Linked DNA regions of Homo sapiens: regions 1 and 3 are each linked to region 2. The links are contacts of gene promoters, found by promoter capture Hi-C in blood cells and fetal thymus (Javierre and others, 2016). All regions are on one chromosome and are shown on one strand. Each heading gives the region's core, a stretch centred on a gene start or on the middle of the fragment in contact. The rest is flanking DNA. Distances are from core to core; before and after follow the strand shown.

What was found. Contacts are between HindIII fragments. The CHiCAGO score rates a contact against its expected background, and 5 or more counts as called.
Region 1: a fragment that was not itself captured here is called in contact with the fragment with the promoter of TMEM131L in region 2 in 6 of 17 cell types (activated CD4 T cells, non-activated CD4 T cells, naive CD4 T cells and 3 more); the score reaches 13.9 in activated CD4 T cells.
Region 3: a contact is called between a fragment that was not itself captured here and the fragment with the promoter of TMEM131L in region 2, in 1 of 17 cell types (activated CD4 T cells). The highest score is 5.5, in activated CD4 T cells.

What each region holds. Positions count from the first base shown.
Region 1 is chr4:153,534,897-153,538,419 of GRCh38, reverse strand. The region is part of intron 3 of TMEM131L (transmembrane 131 like); the gene reads right to left. LOC105377498 (a long non-coding RNA gene) reads left to right here. Exons shown (of 3, transcript XR_939363.3): 2 at 1,548-1,630. Among named protein-coding and RNA genes, the nearest start is that of TMEM131L, 70 kb to the right of the region's middle. RefSeq lists enhancers at 1,831-2,336, 2,851-3,426, 3,427-3,523. The HindIII fragment of the contact is 4,363 bases long and covers 1-3,523 here.
Region 2 is chr4:153,464,743-153,468,057 of GRCh38, reverse strand. TMEM131L (transmembrane 131 like) reads right to left here and starts at 1,698. Exons shown (of 35, transcript NM_001131007.2): 1 at 1,537-1,698; 2 at 777-847. The coding sequence starts at 1,660. RefSeq lists enhancers at 8-67, 438-527, 22-687, 2,058-2,237 and silencers at 998-1,357, 1,728-1,827, 1,868-2,017. The HindIII fragment of the contact is 8,794 bases long and covers 148-3,315 here.
Region 3 is chr4:153,370,513-153,374,117 of GRCh38, reverse strand. All of the region lies in intron 4 of MND1 (meiotic nuclear divisions 1), which reads right to left. Among named protein-coding and RNA genes, the nearest start is that of MND1, 28 kb to the right of the region's middle. The HindIII fragment of the contact is 1,228 bases long and covers 1,023-2,250 here.

The DNA of each region.
Region 1 (3,523 bases), core at 612-3,111, 70 kb before region 2:
TAGGGTGGCTTTGGCCCTGCACTGATGTAAACTGGGAAGTGCCTGCATGTGACTGGTTTAGAGCCTATCCTTCTGCTTCGTAACTAGACCTGCAGGGACGTACAAGGACCTCCATGAGATGCTTCAGGGAACCAAAGGTGGGAGGGTATTCCAGACTGATGTGGCCACACCAGAAAGAAAAGAGGTGCTAGAAGGAGCACACAGGTGACATCCCCACCTGGAAGGAACAAAGTCCTGGAAGGAGCATAGTCAATAAGAACCACTGCCATTTACATTTCAGGGAAGGCAAGGGGTAAGAATTATCCTACTCTTTGAAGATTGCTTAAAACATCCTCAAATACCGATACACATTACCTCCTTCCTGTGGGGTGGCTGGCAGGAACCTTACAAGGGAAAATACTTGTGTTCCCGCTCTACTTAAAGTTGTTCAGTGTTGTGTGAAACTGCAGAGTTCTTGCAAAATCAGAAGAGAAAAAATCAGGGAAAGTTGCATCTTGCTTCCCAGTTAGTCTAGGGAGAAAGGAGTCCATCAGATATAACACAGCAGTGGAAGAAACAATGAGGCTAAATTCCTACAGGTTTGTCAGAGGCTTTTGAACCAGAGCAACTCCATCTTAAATAGGAGCTGGGTAAAACGAGGCTGAAACCTACTGGGCTGCATTCCCAGACAGTTAAGGCATTCTAAGTCTTGGATGAGATAAGAGGTCAGCACAAGATACAGGTCATAAAGGCCTTGCTGATGAAACAGGTTGCAGTAAAGAAGCCGGCCGAAACCCACCAAAACCAAGATGGCCACAAGAGCGACCTCTGGTTGTCCTCACTGCTACACTCCACCAGCGCCATGACAGTTTACAAATGCCATGGCAACATCAGTATGTTACCCTATACGGTCAAAAAAGGGGAGGCATAAATAATCCACCCCTTATTTAGCATATCATCAAGAAATAACCATGAAAATGGGCAACCAGCAGCCCTCAGGGCTGTTCTGACTATGGAGTAGCCATTCTTTCATTCGTTTACTTTCTTAATAAACCTGCTTTTGCTTTGCACTATGGACTTGCCTTGAATTCTTTCTTGTGTGAGATTCAAGAACTCTCTCTTGGGGTCTAGATCAGAACCTCTTTCCTGTAACAGGTTCACTGGGTCCCAATCAGGAACAATCTACAAAGGTGGAGTTAACCATAAAGATGAGTACAAGAGATCATCTAATGCTCTTGTGATCAGAAGTTCAGTTTCCACTATTATAAAATTAAGGTAAGACCCTGTGATGGTTAATACTGAGTATCAACTTGATTGAAGGATGCAGAGTATTGATCCTGGGTGTGTCCGTGAGGGTGTTGCCAAAGGAGATTAACATTTGAGTCAGTGGGCTGGGAAAGGCAGACCCACCCTTAATCTGGGTGGGCACCATCTAATCAGCTGCCAGCGCAGCCAGGATATAAAGCAGGCAGAAAAGCATGAAAAGGCTAGACTGGCTTAGCCTCCCAGCCAACATCTTTTTCCTATGCTTTCTCCCGTGCTGGATGCTTCCTGCCCTGGAACATCAGACTCCCAAGTTCTTCAGCTTTGGGACTCGGACTGGTTTCCTTGCTCCTCAGCTTGCAGACAACCTATTGGACCTTGTGATCGGGTGAGTTTAATACTTTGTAATAAACTCCCCTTTATATATATACATAGAAGGGAGGGAGGGAGGGAGGGAGATAGATAGACAGACAGACAGACAAGACAGATAGCTAGATAGATCGATCGATTCTGTCAGTTCTGTCCCTCTAGAGAATCTGACTGACACAGACCCCCTAAATCCATTGTGAGGATTAAATGAAATGTGTTTGTAAAGAGTTTTGCCAAGCACCCAGCAAAGTGTTTCAGGATTTCTTTTATTAGAGGTTGTGGGGAGGTGGGCAGAATGCCTCCAACAGAACTCCAGTGCCCTGACAGCTAGAGGCTGCACTGCAGGCACTGCAGCAACTGAAGCAGGAGCCTCCCTTTCAATTCAGCTCAGGGAACTTAATTGTTCTTAATTATACAGATGCCACTCATATGCAAATCATACATGAAGAGTTTTCCTTTTAAATTGTAATTCTTCTTTCAAACCCTTGAGGCACTGAAGTGTTATTGCTGAAGATGTCTGCAAAAGAAAGAATGGCCCTGCGTGGTCCCTCAAGCCCAGGAGTCCCTCTCCACAGGCCCTCACTCCCTCTGCCCCATCAGCAGCTTGTTAACCCCCCCAGTGGCCAGGTCTGCCCCAGTCTTGCTCCTGGATTTTCAGCCCAGATCCTAACAACTTCCCCTGTCTTTCCAGCATTCTCCATCCCCAGACAAAGCACGGTATGAATCCTATGCAGATGTGCAGGAAGGCAGGGAAAAGCAAAGATCAGCTGGTAGCAACGTGGTTTTGTCCATTCAATCCTTCTCTCAATAAATACCCATTCCAAAAGAAGCAGAGCGCTCCAATAAAAATTGTGTTTTGAAGATTGTAAACAGCAACATGAAAAAAGTGCTGCCGTTGCCGTGACAAGTAAACAAAAGGAAACAAAGCTGCTGTGTGCAACAAGATTACAACTAAAAAAAATATACAAAGGAAAATGAGAAGGCAAATACCAAAATATTAACAGCAACGTTAGGATGAGTAGAATATCAGACACTTTCCTTTTGCCTGACTCTCCAAAATGGTTCTGAACCTGTGAGAATATTAAAGATGTTCAGAACGATGTGCTTTTTGAAAACTCAAGAGCAATAGGAAGGTACACTCTTCCTAAATACAGCTTATAGTTATTTCTTTTTTTGATTCAAACAGCATATTTCCACATTAATAAATTATTTAAAAGCTAACAAAAGTTAGCTTTTAAATAATTGGTTTTGTTATGTTGCTTCACTTCCCCTAACTCGCTGGCCACCTCTCAGTCTCCTCTACCACCCTTCTGAATGCAGAGACACCCCAGGCTCCAGACCCTGGTCCTCTTTTCTAAGCAATCTAAAATGACTCAATGCTTATCTGATCCAACGTGAAGGCTGTAAACACCACCCCAAATTTACATCTCTAGCCCAGCACCCTTCCCAACTGCCCATCCACATGTGCTCTGGAATGTCGAAAAGACATCCCAAAACTCAACAGGTGTGAAACTGAGCTCCTGATCTTACCCCCACACCCAACTGCCCACAGCCATCTCCGCTCAGTTGTTCAAGCCAATAACCCTGGAGTCATCCCTAACTGTTCTCTTTCTCACACCCCGCATCCCATCCATCGGAAATCCCATGAGCTCCGCTTTCACCAGGCCCACTGCCACACCTGATCCAAGCACCCATCATGTCTCTCCATCTCTTGCTTCCTGGCTGTAAGGGCCTCACTGGTTTCCCTGCCACCCAGGCTCAGCACTGCCAGCATGGCCTCTTTAAACCTAATTCAAATGGCATCACTGCTCTGCTCAAAATCCCCACAAGAACTCCGCATTTCCAAGGCCTCACGCTGTGCTCTCCCTGTGACCTCACCAACTCCACACCCCTCTCCAGGTCTGTACCCACG
Region 2 (3,315 bases), core at 449-2,948:
CTAAATATTTCCTTATAATTCAAGCCACTCCCACCCAAAAAATGCATTTTGGATCACTACCGTTACTGGTGAAAGGCAGTCAACAACATTATATTTAAATGTGCACACTTCACAGTCAATGGGAATTTCTTGTAAAAGTTAAAAGCTTTGCAGTACTGTATCTGTTGCAGCAATAAACCCTCTATGATGCTACAGATTCCCAATAAAACGTCAGTAATTATTTTTCTACACGCAATCATCATATCATCATACAGAGAAAAAAACCAGAAATTCAAGTTCTTAAGTGGGTGTATTTTAACAGGAATTAAGGGCACTTGGAGAAAATCCAAGATGACAATCCTTGAGAGTCACATCTCCATCCCAAAGCTACTTAACGCTAATGGCAAATACCACTCTAACATTTATGAAATCAATACTCCTGTTGTCCTCAACCTCTTAGCCACTTGCCATCCACACAGCACCAGCTCACTTAGGGAACAGTGTGCACCCAGGACACCCACGGCCGAACAGACCGCTGGCCGCTTCCCTGCTGAGGTGGCCTGGGTTCCCACCTTCTGAACTTGGGGCCGGCCTGCCTCAGGCCCTGTCACATGGCGTGGGAGGAGCCGGGAAGGCCACCGTTGCCAGGTGTTCAGGCTCGGCCCCTAACGTTTATTTGCCTTGCAAAGTGGCCCGAACGCCTGTGCCGCTTGGACAGGGGGTGGGGAGGACCGGGGGCCTCCCCGCCTCTCCTCCCTCGTACACCCACAGCCGCCCTGTCACCTGGTCGTCCTCACCTGAGTGGGCAGCAGGAGTTCCCCTTCTTCTGCCTGCCACAGCTCCACCACGTTCGGCAACGGCTCAATCGCTGCAGGAACACCAAAAAATACACCACGTTTTTAATGCACGCTAAAGAAACGCTTCCTGTTTCCCCTACCGTCCCTCCGTGCCCCCCGCCTCACCAAAACACGTCTCTTTTTCCTCCTGGGAACAGAGGCCATCCCAGGGGCGAGCCAAGGATAAAAATACAATGGGTGGGGTGTGAGCCGGCGGCCCCTCGGACGCGAAGGCGACAGCGTGCAGGCAGGCTCGGGGTGCTCGTGCTGGGGGTGGGGGGACGAAGTGGGAGTGAAGACACCCCACGAGGCACTCCGGGCTCCGCAGCCCGAGCATCTGGAGTGTGGACCCTGGGCGGCCAGGCTCGGGGGAACAAAGCTGCAGGAAGCCGGGCCGCTGCGGGGCACCCGCGCGCGCCACACAAAGCGGGGGCTGCGCCCGGGGCGCAGGGGCCCGCGCACAAAGGCTCCAGGGCGCGAGCGGCTAGCGGTCCCCAAGCCCCGCGACTGCCCCGCTCTCCAGCTGTACGGGGCAGAGAGGCGCGGGACGGGACGCTGTGGTCAGAAAATGTTATCAGCGGAGAATCGCAACAGCTTTCCTTCCTCCTCCTGCCCCTTTCCCTTTCCTCCCCTCGCCCTCTTATAGATTTCAGCAGTTCCCTAAAAGAAAGAGCGGGGGCGGGGTGGAGAGGCAGAGCGAGCCCAGCGGCGCAAGGCTGACCTTGTCCCTGAGCCCCTCCCGGGCGACAGCAGGGCAGCAGGACCTGGAAGACGCCCAGCAGGAGGTTCACGGCCGCCGCGGTGCGGCAGTAGCAGCCGGGCTGCGGGCGTCGGAGCCCCGCCATGCTGCTGCTCGCGCTCCTCTCCGTTGCTCGCCGCGCTCGCCGCTAGCTCGCTGGCGCCCCAGCTGCCTCGCCCCGGGCCCGCCCCCGTGCCGCCCCGCCCCGCCCCGCCCCGCCCCGCCCCGCCCCGCGCCGCACCACCCCCGCCGCTGCCGCAGCTGCTGCAGCTCCAGACCCGGGCGCGCCGCTTGCTCTGAGCGCGTGTGCGCCGCAGATAGGGAGGGACGGAACGCGGCGGGGTGCGGGGGAAAGTGGACAATGCGAACCCGCGGGTGCCCCGCCCCGGCGCGGAGCACATGGCCGCGGGCCCGCCCCGCAGCGCGCACTCTGCGGGGCCCGGGCGCTTTCCTCGGCTGGGACGGGGTCGCTTAGAGCTGTCCGCGGGGACTAGCGGCCCACTTTTGCCAAGTGCATTTTCATGAACTTTTGGGTGGTTGCCGCTTTGTCGAGGCGCTTGGGCCACGGTCGAGAGATTACCCTCGAGGGAAGAGGTGGCGGTGGAGGTGGGAACGAGGAGTCGCCAAGCGAGAGGCCTTGGACACAGGATATTAGTGGAAATAATGCAGTGGTTGTCAGGAAACGCGAGTGCAGCCACATGGCCACTGCCAGTTATGCAGCGAGGATATCCGGTGGCTGCAAAGTCTGTAATTTAGAATAAAAAGAGCTCTCCCAAAACCCGAGAGGCAGACCTCAGCGCCGCGTGGCGGTAGTGCGCCCGGCACCCTCTGTGGACACTGTCCAGGTCCTGACAGGTGGGGAAGACTCTTCCTAGGGGATTTATAGCTTCAAAGACCCTGCAAATACTCCCTTTTGGAATCATATTGCAAAATTCAGCCAGCCTCTCCTGAAATATGGTTGGGGTCGAGGATGTGGTTAGTTGCCTGTTTCTAACATTAGTAGGATAATGGAAGTAATACGTGGAAATACATTTCCTAGTTCCAGGTTTTGATGCCTATAACTAACAAGTCCAAAATCTGGCATCTCTTTAAGTTAACATCCTGCCTTTACCAGCGATGTCGCAAACAAGGGCTTATTCAGAAATCAATTTGCATAACCTAGAAGTATGGGCAATCTTATGATTTTTTAAAGTTAACTTACTGCTTCCACTGTAGCTTGTATGAAATTCAGAGAATATGAACAATATAGTATGAAGAGGGGAAGTGATGGGACACACCTGTTTACCTTAATCCTCTGTTTAATTGCTCCTTGTGCCTTACAAGCCAGACTATAGAAAACCAGTGCTTGCATAGCAGACACAATCCTGAGAAGGACAAAATGAAATCTAGATCCTCTTTCCTAAAGACGTAATACAGTACTGTGAACACAGTCTCACACACTGTCTGCATTTAACTCCAAACAAGGTTAAATAGTCTAATTGCTTGGCCAGACTTAACATTTAAGTAGATTAGCATAAACGTAAGTTGTTGATGTGAAAAAAAAAAAGGGACACTTTGCATTTTCCAACTTGAATACCTCCAGTAGTCTCTGTTTCATACTTTTTTCTGTATTCCTTGCCAACATCTTCCTTTATTTAGCAAGGATCTCCAGTGCCATCTCAATGTGCCCTTTTTTTCTCTTCACTTCTCCAAGTTTCTATTTGCCCCTTGGATTCTGAAGGTCCCCCACGCAGTTAAAGGGACCTCCAGTGACAGGAATAT
Region 3 (3,605 bases), core at 387-2,886, 94 kb after region 2:
TGAAGTAGGTGTAAGCTTTCTTTCACAAACTAGGAAACCAAGGCTTTAAAAGGCTTAAGATATTTTTCTAATATTGTACAGCTGGTCAAGAAGTGAAGCTGTGATTTCCATCCATGTCTGCTTTCTAACTACTACTCTTTCCATGAAGCCATATTGCTTCTCTAAAATGATAAGTGATCTTCAGAACAATGGCTGAGGGGCACAGGGTGATACTCTCATGACTTCTCAACATCCAGTGAAAGATTAAAGTAGGTTTAGGTCTGCGAAATGGCATTAGGGTCATTTTATTTGAGTTAAAAAAATAGTTATCTATAGCAAATGCCAAGGGCTATCAACCTTTTAGAAATGACGTATCAAAACCTTGCTCTTCATTTATTTCTGGACTGCTTAGAACAGGAGGTATAGGATCTACCTATGTGTTAGCCTCTGATGTGACTTCAACTTATGAGCAGGTGTGTCAGATTAAGCTTTGATCTCCGGTACGTGAGAGTGGGGAAAGAGGGCCATGTCACAAAATACACTGGATGCCAATTCTCTCATTCAGAATTAATAAACACTGACATTAAGCTCAATTTTTTAAAAGCTAGATTCACTGTACTAACAAGAATTCCTTGCTTACTTCTATTAAGATTTGGCAAGCTTCCCCACTTTCTAAGTAGAAATTATGTGAAATCCAGAAGTAAAGAAATAAAAACCGTATATTTGACCTTTTCCCTCAAATGCAAAGAATTTCTCTGAAGTCAACCAAGAAATGCTGAATCAGCCCCCATTATGCCTAGTTTTAGGAAGAAATGATTGTCTGGTAAGAAGGTAAGTACTTGAGGCTCAATAATTATTTGTTGAATAAATAAAACACAGTTCTTGTCCTCAAGTAACTTTGAGACTAGTTGAGATAAGATGGCAGATTTAACATAACTACATAGGTAATCACACTAAATGTAAATGGTCTAGACACCCTAATTAAAAGGCAGAAATTGTCAGATTATACAAAAAAAGCAAGTCCCAACTATATGTAAGAAGCTTACTCTAAATATGAAAATACAAAAAGATTAAAAGTAAACAGAAAAAGATATGCCATGCTACTATTAAAAAAAAAAAAAGATTTCCTATAGAAAGAGTTACTCAAAAGAAAGAGTTCCTATGTAACACCAGAACAAAGAATATTACCTGGAATAAATAAGTCATTTCATAATGATAAATACATCAAGGGCACATAATCCTTAATGTCTATGCATTCAATAAAAGAGCTTAATACCTATATGTTCATCAATAAACTGTTGTATATTCATACACTGAAATTCCACTCAGCAACAGAAATGAATGAATACATAAAGCAACATGGGTAAATCTTAAAATAATTTTATTGAGTAAAAGAAGCTGGGGGTGGGGGAAAGTACACACTACGGCATGATGCCATCTATATAAAATTCTAGGAAATACAAACTAATGAATAGTGGCAGAAAGCAAAGCAAGTTTCCTGGGGATAGGAGGAGGGGAGCAGTGTAGGGAAGGAAGAGAATGATTTTACAAAGGGGAATTAAAAAAACTTTTAGGGTTGATTGGTATGTTCAATTACCTTGATTGTGGTGATAGTTTCGTGGACACATACATATGCCAAAGGTTATAAAAGAATACACTTTAAATATGAGCAGGTTTTTGTATGTCATTTATTTCTCATTAGAGCTGCTTTTAAAAAACTAAGAAGATATACACACATAAAAAGTTTTTTTTAAAAAAAATCCTATGATATCCTCTAAGATGGCCTGAACGATCCCTCTTTGCACAGGCATACCTCGTTTTTATTGTGCTTTGCTTTACTGCACTTCAGATAGCGTGTTTTCTACAAATTAAGTTTGTGGCTACCTTGAGTCAAGCAAGTCTATTGGTGTCATTTTTCCAATGGCATGTGCTCACTTCTTGTCTCTGTGTAATTCTTGCATTAAACTTTTTCATTATTATTATATCTGTCACGGTGATCTGTGATCTTGATGTTACTATTGTAATTGTTTTGGGGTGTCACAAACCATGCCCACATAAGACAGTGAACTTAATATATGCTGTGTGTATTCTGACTGCTCCAGTGACTCACCGTTCCCCCATCTCTCACCCTCCCTTGGCCTTCCCTATTCCTTGAGACAAAACAATATTGAAATTAGGCCAATTAATAACCCTACAGTGGCCTCTAAGCATTCAAGTGAAAAAACGTCACACATCTCTCATTTTCAATCAAAAGCCAGAAATGATTAAGCTTAGTTAGGAAGATACAGTCAAAAGCCAAAACAGGCGGAAAGCTAGGCCTCTTGTGCCAAAGAGCCAAGTTGTGAGTGCAAGGGAAAAGTTCCTGAAAGAAATTAAAAGTGCTAATCTAGTAAACACGCAAATGATGAGAAAGCAAAACAGCCGTATTGCTGAGATAGAGAAAGTTTTAGTGGTCTGGGTAGAGGATCGAGCCAACCACAACGTTCCCTTAAGCCAAAGCCTAATCCAGAGCAAAACCTCAACTCTCTTCAATTCTCTGTAGGCTGAGAGGTGAGGAAGCTGCACAGAAAAAGTTGGAAGCTAGAAGAGGTTGACTCATAAAGTTTAAGGAAAGAGGCCATCTCCATAATGTAAAAGTGCAAGACGAGGTTTCAAGTACTATGAAGTGAAGCAAGTTATCCAGAAGACCTAGCCAAGCTACACTAAACAAAAAATTTTCAGGGTAGACAAAACAGCCTTCTGTTGGAAAAAGATGCCATCTAGGACTTTCATAGCTAGAGAGGAGAAGTCCATGCCTGACTTTAAAGTTTCAAAGGCCAGGGTGACACTTGACACTCTTATTAGAGGCTAATGCAGCTGGTGACTTTAGTTGAAGCCAATGCTCAATGAAAACCCTAGGGCCCTTAAGAATTATTCTAAATCTACTCTGCCTGTGCCCTATAAGTGGAATAACAAAGCTCAGATGACAGCATATCGATTTACAGCATGGTTTACTGGGTATTTCAAGCCAACCGTTGAGACTTGCTGCTCAGAAAAAAGATTTCTTTCAAAATATTACTGCCCAATGACAATGTACCTAGTCACCCAAGAACTCTGAGGAAGATATACAAGGAGATTAACGTTTTCATGCCTAATAACACAATATCCATTCTGCAGCCTGTGGATCAAGGAGTAATTTCAACTTTCAAGTTTTATTATTTAAGAAAAACTTTCAGTAAGGCTATAACTGCCACAGTGACTCCTCTGACGGATCTGAGCAAAGTAAATTGAAAACCTTCTGGGAAGGATTCACCATTCTAGATGCCATTAAGAATATCTGTGGCCAGGCATGGTGGCTCCCGCCTGTAATCCCAGCACTTTGGGAGGCTGAGGTGGGCAGATCACTTAAGTCAAAAGTTCAAGGCCAGCCTGGCCAACATCGTGAAACCCTGTCTCTACTAAAAATACAAAAGTTAGCCAGGCGTGATGGTGCCTGCCCATAATCTCAGCTACTCAGGAGGCTGAGACCAGAGAATCACCTGAACCCGGGAGGCGGAGGTTGCAGTGAGCTAGGATCGCGCCACTGCACTCCAGCCTGGATGACAGAGTGAGACTCCATCTCAAAAAACAAAACAAAACAGAACATT